Regions from separate parts of the Homo sapiens genome. Here region 1 is linked to region 2. The links are contacts of gene promoters, found by promoter capture Hi-C in human tissues and cell types (Jung and others, 2019). All regions are on one chromosome and are shown on one strand. The core of a region is centred on a gene start or on the middle of the fragment in contact, and the rest is flanking DNA. Distances in the headings are between cores, read along the strand shown.

Region 1 (4,819 bases), core at 1,694-4,193, 76 kb before region 2:
CAGCATCTTTTCTGCTGTATCTGATGTCATAGCCAAGGGCATGCCCTATTATTCTCCAGTGATTATAAGCTATAAAGCTATGTTTTGTCTCACCTTTGTTTATCAGCCTGGGCAATGGGCATGGTGAGAGCCTAGGTTTATCTTACAGGCCTATTGCTCCTTAGAGAAGAAAAGAGGAAGAGAAGTAAGGAGGAGTTTCAGATTCTTATTGGTTTAGCCAAGCACACAAAGATGGTATCAAGCCTCCAGAACAGCTGAGCCATCACCCCAGACCACAGCCATTGAGAGCACAATTGGCACCCTCAACTTCCAATAGAACTCTTGTATTCTAGGCAAAGCTTCTTAAGTACTACCCAGAATCCACTTCAATAGAGAATGTGAAGTTCAGCTACCCAGCAACATCCATCATTGATCTGCCCTGTGAGAAATCAGGTGGAAACCGTACACTGGACTTAGCAGAAAAAATAGATGCATGCACAGGTTTTGGATTCAGGAAGACCTGAGTTCGGATCTGAACTCTGAAACTTTCTTGCCAGGTGTGTGAACTCTGACAACTAAATTTAGCTGTTTGGAGGCCCAGTTCCTTCATTTATGATACGGGATTAACATATATTTTTATATCATAGTTGTAAGTTTTTATTATTAACCACCACCCTGGTTTGAAAGAGTCAAGACTTGAGATGAATTGGCCAGCTCATTGAAAATAAATTTGCAAGCTTGATAGAGGATGTGAAGTTCAACTATCCAGCAAAATTCATCATTGATCTGCCCTGTGAGAAATCAGATGGGAATGGTGCACTGGACCGAGCAGGAAAAAAAAAATGGTTTTGAGCCCTGACCCTATTGCTAACTTAATGTTTGATGTTAACTGTGTCCTTCCCATCCTCTGGACCTCTATTTCCTCATCTCTAAAATCCCTTCTGTGATCTCTGTTGTTCCAGCAAAATCTGGGCACCAATGTGATGACTCAGCCAAGGTCCCAGAGTGAATCAGCAAAGGCCAAGGAAGGACCAGTATCCCAATCTGGAGCTTTTTCCAGAGCTTTAAACAATGCCCTGCAAAAACCAGCTTAGCACTCATTTCATGCTGGGCATGATGGAATGTGCTGTGGTGGAGAGATGATGGTATGGAGATAAAACAAACAAACAACAACAACAACAAAACAAGGTCGCTGTGTGTGGTGGCTCACGTCTGTAATCCCAGCACTTTGGGAGGCTGAGGTAGGCAGATCACAAGGTCAGGAGTTCGAGACTAGCCTGACCAATGTGGTGAAATCCTGTCTCTACTAAAAATACAAAAATTAGCCAGGCATGGTGGCGCACACCTGTAATCCCAGCTACTCAGGAGGCCAAGGCAGAAGAATTGCTTGAACTCGGGAGGTGGAGGTTGCAGTGAGCCAAGATCACGCCACTGCACTCCAGTCTGGGCAACAGAGTGAGACTCTGTCTCAAAAACAAACAAACAAACAAACAAACAAAAAATGAAACAATGTCCCTGCCCATGAAGGGCTTACAATTGAGCTGATGAAACACAAACAGAAACCACATCATTTACCAGTTTCCCCAAAATCCTCTTCCTGCACATCTCATCACTCCATTTGTAGAAAGAAGCCCTATGAGCTCAGAACAGGCCTGTGGTTGAGCAGCTTCCACTCTGCCTCTCTGCTGATTCCTGCAGCTCTGCTCTTTCTCCTACTCTGGGCCTTGCACGTGCTGTTCCTACCACCCTCTTCTAATCTGCTTGCTTGGCTCATTCCTTTCAGAACTTAGTTCAGATCTCCCCACCTCCAGGAAGTCTTCCTTGATTCCCCAGAGTTGGGGTAGGTACTGCTTTTCAGTGCTCCCAGGGCCCCAGGATGCTCCTAGTGTAGCCCTTACTGGGAAGTGTTGTAGTTACTTGGTTTCTAATCCGTCTTCCACTCTGCACTGAAATTCCATGAGAAGAAAGAAGTTCAGTACCTGGGACATAGTTGGAGCTTCTTAAAATTGTTTATTCGCTACATTGCAGGGTTAAGCTTTGAAGAATGGGTAGGAATCAAATGGGAAGGGGGAAATGAACAGCATCCTTTAGGCATTGGGATGGAAACACATGCTTAAGTGTATGTGTGGGGTGGGGGTAACAAGTGACAGGGAATGTACAGTGTGGGGGCCGGAGCCATCTTTGGCTGAGCAGACCTTCTAGCCCACTGGCTTGATCTTAGTCCCCAGGGGTCTTCAGATTCTCCATGAGATGCACAATGGAGAAGCCTCCATCCCTGCCACATTTCCCTCAAGCATTTCCCAAGATTTGTTCTGGGTACTCACCTGTCCAGCAGCTGCTATTAGTGTTCAGACATTCTTGGGGGTCCATCTTCTAGGACAGGAGTCAGCGAACTTTTCTGCAATAGGACAGAGAGTAAATATTTTCAGGTTTGTAGGCCATGCAATTTCTGTAGTGAGTATGCCAATCTTATTAAAGCATGAAAGCAACTATAGACAATGTACAGACAAATGGGTGTGGCTATATTTCACTATAACTTTATTTACACAAACAGGCAGTGGGCCCTTTTCCACTATGCCTGAGTTTATACTAATGAGATGATTCAGAGTGGAGCCCCTAGATAGCTTCAGAATGGGGGCTGGGCACCAAAAAGACTACATGTGATTGTGTTGGGGGAGACTTTCATCCCTACTCACTGATGTCTGGGGGTGGGGAGGGGGACTGAAGATTGAGTTATAAAAACTCTTAATCAGTGAGATTCAGGGAACCTCTGGGTTGGTGGACACATTGATGTGCTGAGAGGGTGGTGCACTTGGGGAAGGCAGGCAAGCTCTATGCCACCCCATCATTCCCATACCTTGCCCTGTGCAATCTTTCATTTGCTTATTCCTGATACGTACCCTTTATAATAAACCAGCAAATGTAAATAAAGTGCCCTTCTGAGTTCTGTGTCATTCTAATGATTATTGAACCTGATGGAAGGTTGTGGGAACCCCTGAATTTGTAGTTGTCTGGGCAGCAGTGTAGGTAACTTGGACACCCGATTTGTGGCTGGTGTCTGCACTGGGGGCAGTCTTGAGGAACTAAGCTCTTGAGCTGTGGGGTCTGCACTAATTCTGAATAGTTAATAGTTAGTCAAAATAGAATTGAATTGTTAGACACCGAGTTGGTGTCAGAGAATTGGTTGGGTTGGAAAAAAAAAAACAAAAAACATGTGATGCCTTTGTAGGCCAGAATTTACCAACCTCTGCTTTATGGAAATGGTAGCATCATCTGAGAACAGGCAGCCCCTTCCCAAAGCCTCCAAATGTGCAGGAGTGGTTGCGGGCTTCTAGCTCATTCATGTTTGACAATTATTGAGCATCTACTATGTGGCAGGCACTGTGCAACCTGCTGGGCGTGTCATGGTAATCAAGATAGAAGAGATTCCTGTCCAGATGAAAGGCAAATTCTAGCAAACAAGGCCCGCAATAAGAAAATAAGAAAACAAAAGAACATTTCAGATCGTGATGGATTCCAGGAAGGGCATTTGTAGGGGATGTGATAGCACATAGTGTGTGCATGTGGGTGGGTTTGGGGATGCTGCTGTAGATACCTGTATTAATCTGTTTTCACACTGCTGATAAAGACATACCTAAGACTGGGCAATTTACAAAAGAAAGAGGTTTAATTGACTTACAGTTTCACATGTCTGGGGAGGCCTCACGATCATGGTGGAAGGCAAGGAGGAGCAAGTCACATCTTATATGGATGATGACAGGCAAAGAGAGCTTGTGCAGGGAAACTCCTATTTTTAAAACCATCAGATCTCATGAGACTTATTTACTATCACAAGATCAGCATGGGAAAAACCTGCCCCCATGATTCGATTACCTCCCACCGGGGCCCTCCCACAACACGTAGGAATTCAGGATGAGATTTGGATGGGGACACAGCCAAACTATATCAACACCTATGGGCAGGGAAGATGGTCTGTGAAGTTGACATTGAACGGAACCTCGAATAATGAGAAGGAGTGGGCCATAGGAGGAGCAGGAGGAAGAGAATTCTTGGAAGATGGAACAGCATATGCAAGATCACCCAAACTGGTAATAACCTGGCAGGTTCTAGGAGCTGAAAAGAGACCAGTGTGGGTGGAGTAAGTTTGTGAAATTTGTCTTTGGTTGAATGAGAGGACTCTCTACTCCATTGGCAGGACACAGCTATTTCCTTTAACAAGAAGGCATTGTGGGTGTATCTGTCATTTTCCCCTTTGGATTACATGAGAAAAATTATGATTGCTAATATTTGTTGGCTACTGTGCCATGTTAAGTGCTTTATTTTAATGATGTCTTTAAAGCCCAACAACAACTTTATGAAATATGGGCTATTATTTTTATTTCCATTTTGTAGTAGGGGAAACTAAGGCACAGAAGAATTTAATTAACTTGCCCCAAACACAGTTAGGCAGATCTGGGATTTGAACTGGCAGATTTGGGATTTGAACCCAGGAGTACAGATGACTATGCTCTCAGCTGCTAAACTATTCAACTATTTTCTTTGATTATGTTTCCCTCAGCCTCTTTGGGGGTAATGTATTTTCTCAAGTTCCCTGAAGTTGAGAGTCTGAGGAGGTTATACTAATAGTGGTAATACCTATTTCACTGACTGGCATCTCATCTGTGTAATGAAGGTCTTTGGGCTCTCCCTGCACTAGGCAAATTCTCACCCATAGAGTTTCACATAAACTCCCAGATAGTCCTCTCAGAGTGTGTATACTCCAAGTCCCTTTTCAGTGGCTATGTCTCACCAGCTCCCGCTGGAGCCATCTTGACAAATGCGTGAAGTCAAGGGTGGTGTC
Region 2 (4,895 bases), core at 826-3,325:
TTTCACTTACTTGCTTCTGAGGTGTCAGTGGCTGCAGTTGTGATGAACCAAGAGGCCACCACCACCATCAGCATCCAAGTCAGAGATGGCTGCCCCATCCTTTCTGCTCTTCCCGCTACTTCAGGTCTAGATAGCACCTGCCCAAAGGAAAGACGGGTTGGCCCTTTGAATTTTTCTCTCTGTCTCTGATGTCTGGTGTCCTGTGAACAGAGATGGATGGGACAAATGCATGATCTAACTCTCCTCCCCACAGCTGGAAGGAGTGCTTTGATTGTATAGTATACAACTCCAGGAGGTGTCACTTATATGGACTAAAAAATTGCATAACACTGCAGCCCTTGTTTTGCTGGGACTTTACCCCTTGTACTCCCCCTCCTTACCTCACCAACATCCCAGTCTTGGCTCCCCAATTCTCAGCACATTGCACATTTTGAAGAACTCAGTCATTTGGAGCAGGAAGTAGCCAGATGGAATAGTGTTCTGGACTCACCACTTTACTGAAGGCAGCTTTGGATTTTAACTGATCCTCTGCCTGGAAACTTTCAATTTGCCTGGATCACTTATTCATTCAACAAACATCTATTGAGTAGCTACATTGTGCCAAACAGGGAGCTAGTCACCATGGAGAACAATGAACATGGCAGTCTGCTCCTTCATGCAACTCACATATCGTAAAGAAGTGGCTTGAGACGAGCAACTTGAGAGGTAATTAACCTTCACAATGCATTTAAATGTTTCTGGAGTGGTCACTTACTATTTCTTCCAATTGGAAAAATAGTCCAGGGTGGATGCCAGTATTACCCCAGTGTTTATAGCAGCAAAATAGGGTGGCATGTTGGTTAAGTATGTAGGAGCTGCAGCCTGCACCTGAGGTTCAAATCCCTGCTTTACTGATCACTAACACTGTGATGTGGGTATTTCAGTTTACTAAGTCTCCGTTTTTGTCTGTGAAATGGAGATTGTTGCTTTCACAAACTGAATATCTATGATGGGCCAGGCTCAGTTCAAAGACATTCATGTGCTCAAAGGCATTGGGTCCTAGAGCAACGTTTTCCAGATCTTCGTGACCATGATGTACTAAAAGAAAAACATTTTATGTTGCCAGGTGCAGTGGCTCATGCCTGTAATCCCAACACTTTGGGAGACTGAGGGGGTGGATCACAAGGTCAGGAGTTTGAGACCAGCCTGGCCAGCATGGTGAAACCCCATCTCTAATAAAAATACAAAAATTAGCCGGGCATGGTGGTGGGCGCCTGTAATCCCAGCTACTCGGGAGGCTGAGACAGGAGGATTGCTTGAACCTGGGAGGCAGAGGTTGCAGTGAGCTGAGATCGTGCCACTGCACTCCTGCCTGGGTGACAGAGAGTCCATCCCCCCCCCCCAAAAAAAAAAAGACAGAAAGAAAGAAAAACATTTTATGTCATGATCTAGTGCAGTCGCTTCTGCATGTATGTGCACACACACATAAAATTTTATAAGACAATTGATATCCTTACTACATTAAGTGATTTAATTCTTACCACAACCCTATGAGATAAGTATTATCCTAGTTTGCAGATGAGAAAACAGGGGGACAAAGAGGCTAACTGCTTGCCTCAAATTTGTATTGCTTACTGACATATTCTATTATATTTAATTAAAAGAAGTCCCTGGATATAACCCACAAAAGGAATGATTTTATGACCCGCTAATAAGATGCGACCTAAAACACTGCATATTGTCACTGGGATTAACTAAGATGACATATGTCGAGCAGGGCCCAGCACATAGCAAGTTGTTCATTGTTGTAACCCTGGTACCTGGCACATAATAGGTGCATAACTAATATTCATGGAATAAGTCAAAAAATAGTAGTCATTGTTACTAGGACAGAGAGGATCAAAGAGAGGAAAACTAACTTACTAAAGATCATGAAGCCAATAATTGGCAGAATAATGACTCAAATCCAGGTCTGACCCCAGTGTCCAAGGTCTTAATTTCCTCTCCTACCTCCCTCAAATAGGATGGGGAGAAGCTGGGCTAGGAGAAGACAGCTACAGATAGCCTTACCTGAAGCCAGAAAGGTAGAGTTAGTCTGGTCATGATGTGCCTCATACTTATATATACACATTTGCCCCAGGCTGGCAATCTCTCCTCCAATTAGTCTCTAGTTCTGTTTTTTGATATTGTTTTCTTGGGGGTGGAATATTTTTTCCTCCTGGCATAATGTTTGCCTTGTCCAAGCTGTGAGGTTGTTGTTGTTCTTTTTCCTAATAGCTAGAGACCCCAAATGATTGACATTGGGGGGTCACACCTGTGCCCGGAAATACAAGGTCACTGTTTCGCACCTTCTAACAGCAAGAGATTCCATAGTTAGAAATTAACTGGGAAAGCAGTGCCAAGGTGCTGGGCTTCTTCTTGGTCACTGACAAGGGCAGGGTGGGATCAAGGAGCCAGGCAGAAGCCAGTATCTGAAGCCAGGCTGCATAAGGACAAAAGGGATATTCACTGCCCCAGATGGGAGGTGCACCTGTCTTGGAGAGGGCACCCTTCTGAAACACCCATTCTCATGAGATCAGCCTTAGAATCCAGACACAAGCAAGAGAGGAGCTGAGAATGGCTGAAAGTCAGAACCAGAAGGTAGTTCAGACATCACTGGACCTGACCCACTCTGTACAACAAAGAATCAGGTCTGATGACTGGGAGGTCCCTTTGGAGGCGAAATAAATTTGCACTTAAATAGACTGACTTTGGAGTCAGTCTGCCTCCTTTATCTGGTGTTTATTGTGTGGCAGTGGGCTCATTTCTTAACCTTCCTGAGGTCCAGAGGTCAATTTCCTTGTCTATAAAATGAGAATACCCATCTCCCACAGTAGTAATAGTAACCAAAGGAGATGATGCAAGTAAAGTCATATAGTAATGATTATATTCATGGAAGTAGTGAAAATTCTGCTTTGCTGTTGTGCAATCACTGAGGTAGAAAATGACAGAGCCTGAGTTAAAACCATGTCTTCAGACCCAGTTCAACATACATGACATTCCAAAAGTCAGTGTGAGAGTGGCTGTCATCATGTTGAGAAAAATAAAATATGTGTGAACTTGGGCTGAGCAGGAAAATATCACCATGATCACTGCATTGATCTTTTTTTTTTTTATACTTTAAGTTTTAGGGTACAAGTGCACAACGTGCAGGTTTGTTACATATGTATACATGTGCCATGTTGATGTGCTGCACCCATTAACTTGTCATTTACATTAGGTATAACTCCTAATGCTATCCCTCCCCGCTCCCCGCATCCCACAATAGGCCCCTGGGTGTGATGTTCCCCTTCCTGTGTCCAAGTGCTCTCATTGTTCAATTCCCACCTGTGAGTGAGAACATGCGGTGTTTGGTTTTTTGTCCTTGCGATAGTTTGCTGAGAATGATGGTTTCCATCTTCATCCATGTCCCTACAAAGGACATGAACTCATATTTTTTATGGCTGCATAGTATTCCACGGTGTATATGTGCCACATTTTCTTAATCCAGTCTATCATTGATGGACATTTGAGTTGGTTCCAAGTCTTTGCTATTGTGAATTGCTCTTTTCAGGACATTTCTCCATCCTGTCCCACTCAGTGGTAGGGTAACCACTGGCACTGGTGTTGTCATCTCCTCAGGATTATGTCCAAGGAGTGGAAATTCTGGGTCAAAGAGGTAGCACAGCTGTAGGAATATTGACTCCTCTTCCCAAACAGCACCCCAGAGAATTATTATAAATTGGTTTACAATCCCACCAACACTACTCACCAGTTCTGAGCATTGGTAACTTGCTTTCATCTTTGCCAAAAGGATAAGTGGAAACGATCTCATTATTGTTCATTTTTGCAATTCTTTGATGAAAAGGGAAGTTATCTCTTCATTTATTTACTTTTTTTTTTCTGAACTAGTCGTTTTTATCCTATACCTTTTTCATGAGGCCTTGTCTAAACCTTATTATGGGTGTCTTCAAAGGATTAAAGACAGTGACCCCAGGTGGCTTCTGGAGTTTTCTTGACAAAGACTTGGGCAGGAAAATGGGGAGTTTGGGTTGGAATCTATTCATAAGTGTAATCACCATGCTTTCTAGTTTCTGTATTTGGTGCTTGTACATTTTGGGGCCTTACTGATCATGGAGGGACTGCCCCTCCCAGGGCTCAATAATTACTAGAGATCAAAAACGACTTATCTGTGAATGTGCCTTTCCGACTGCAAATCAATCAATCCAGACCACATACCCCCAACCCTTGGCCTCCTTTTTGGGGCTTTTACACTTAGGGTCACTACTTGCTGCTTTAGATCACCCCAAGGGACCAGGTACCAGACAACTAGAGACAACTCCTATGGCCCAGAGGTCTCTGAAATTATTCAAACTAAGCCAATCCTAAATCTGCTTACCTTGCCTCTCCCATTCCTTCCTGCAGAAACTACAATAAAGGCTCTTTCCTGCCTTTTCCCTTGCTCTCTTTGCTTCCTGACCGACCCTGGTACTTCCCAGCAGCTCTTCCTCTCCCTTCAGCCCCTCTGCCCAGTGTGGTGTGTCCCCTTCTCTTGGGATCTGTGAGTATAACAAGTTGTCAGTGGCCATAATTTCCTGCTCTGTTGCTCATCAAGTTCACCAAAGACATCCATGTTACCAAATTCAATCAATATTTTTCTCTTTATCTTACCTCTAGGACAGTGCACAATAAATATTTGTTTTTGAACGAACCTTAATCTCTCAGCACTTCGCTCTTGAAACACTCTTCTTTCTTTCTTTCTTTTTCTTCTTCTTTTTTTTTTTTTTAATGGAGTCTTGCTCTGTCACCCAGGTTGGAGTGCAGTGGCTCAGTCTTGGCTCACTGCAACCTCCACCTCCCAAGTTCAAGTGATTCTCTTGAATCCTTGAATCCTCAGC

The links. The method cuts DNA at HindIII sites, captures the fragments that hold promoters and counts their contacts. A contact is called where the count stands out against the background at its distance.
Region 1: a contact is called between a fragment that was not itself captured here and the fragment with the promoter of UMOD in region 2, in 2 of the 25 tissues and cell types used here (esophagus and pancreas).

What each region holds. Positions count from the first base shown.
Region 1 is chr16:20,274,029-20,278,847 of GRCh38, forward strand. No RefSeq gene overlaps it. Among named protein-coding and RNA genes, the nearest start is that of GP2, 51 kb to the right of the region's middle. The HindIII fragment of the contact is 4,833 bases long and covers 528-4,819 here.
Region 2 is chr16:20,350,640-20,355,534 of GRCh38, forward strand. UMOD (uromodulin) reads right to left here and starts at 2,076. Exons shown (of 11, transcript NM_003361.4): 1 at 2,050-2,076; 2 at 11-200. The coding sequence starts at 98. The HindIII fragment of the contact is 15,409 bases long and covers 1-4,895 here.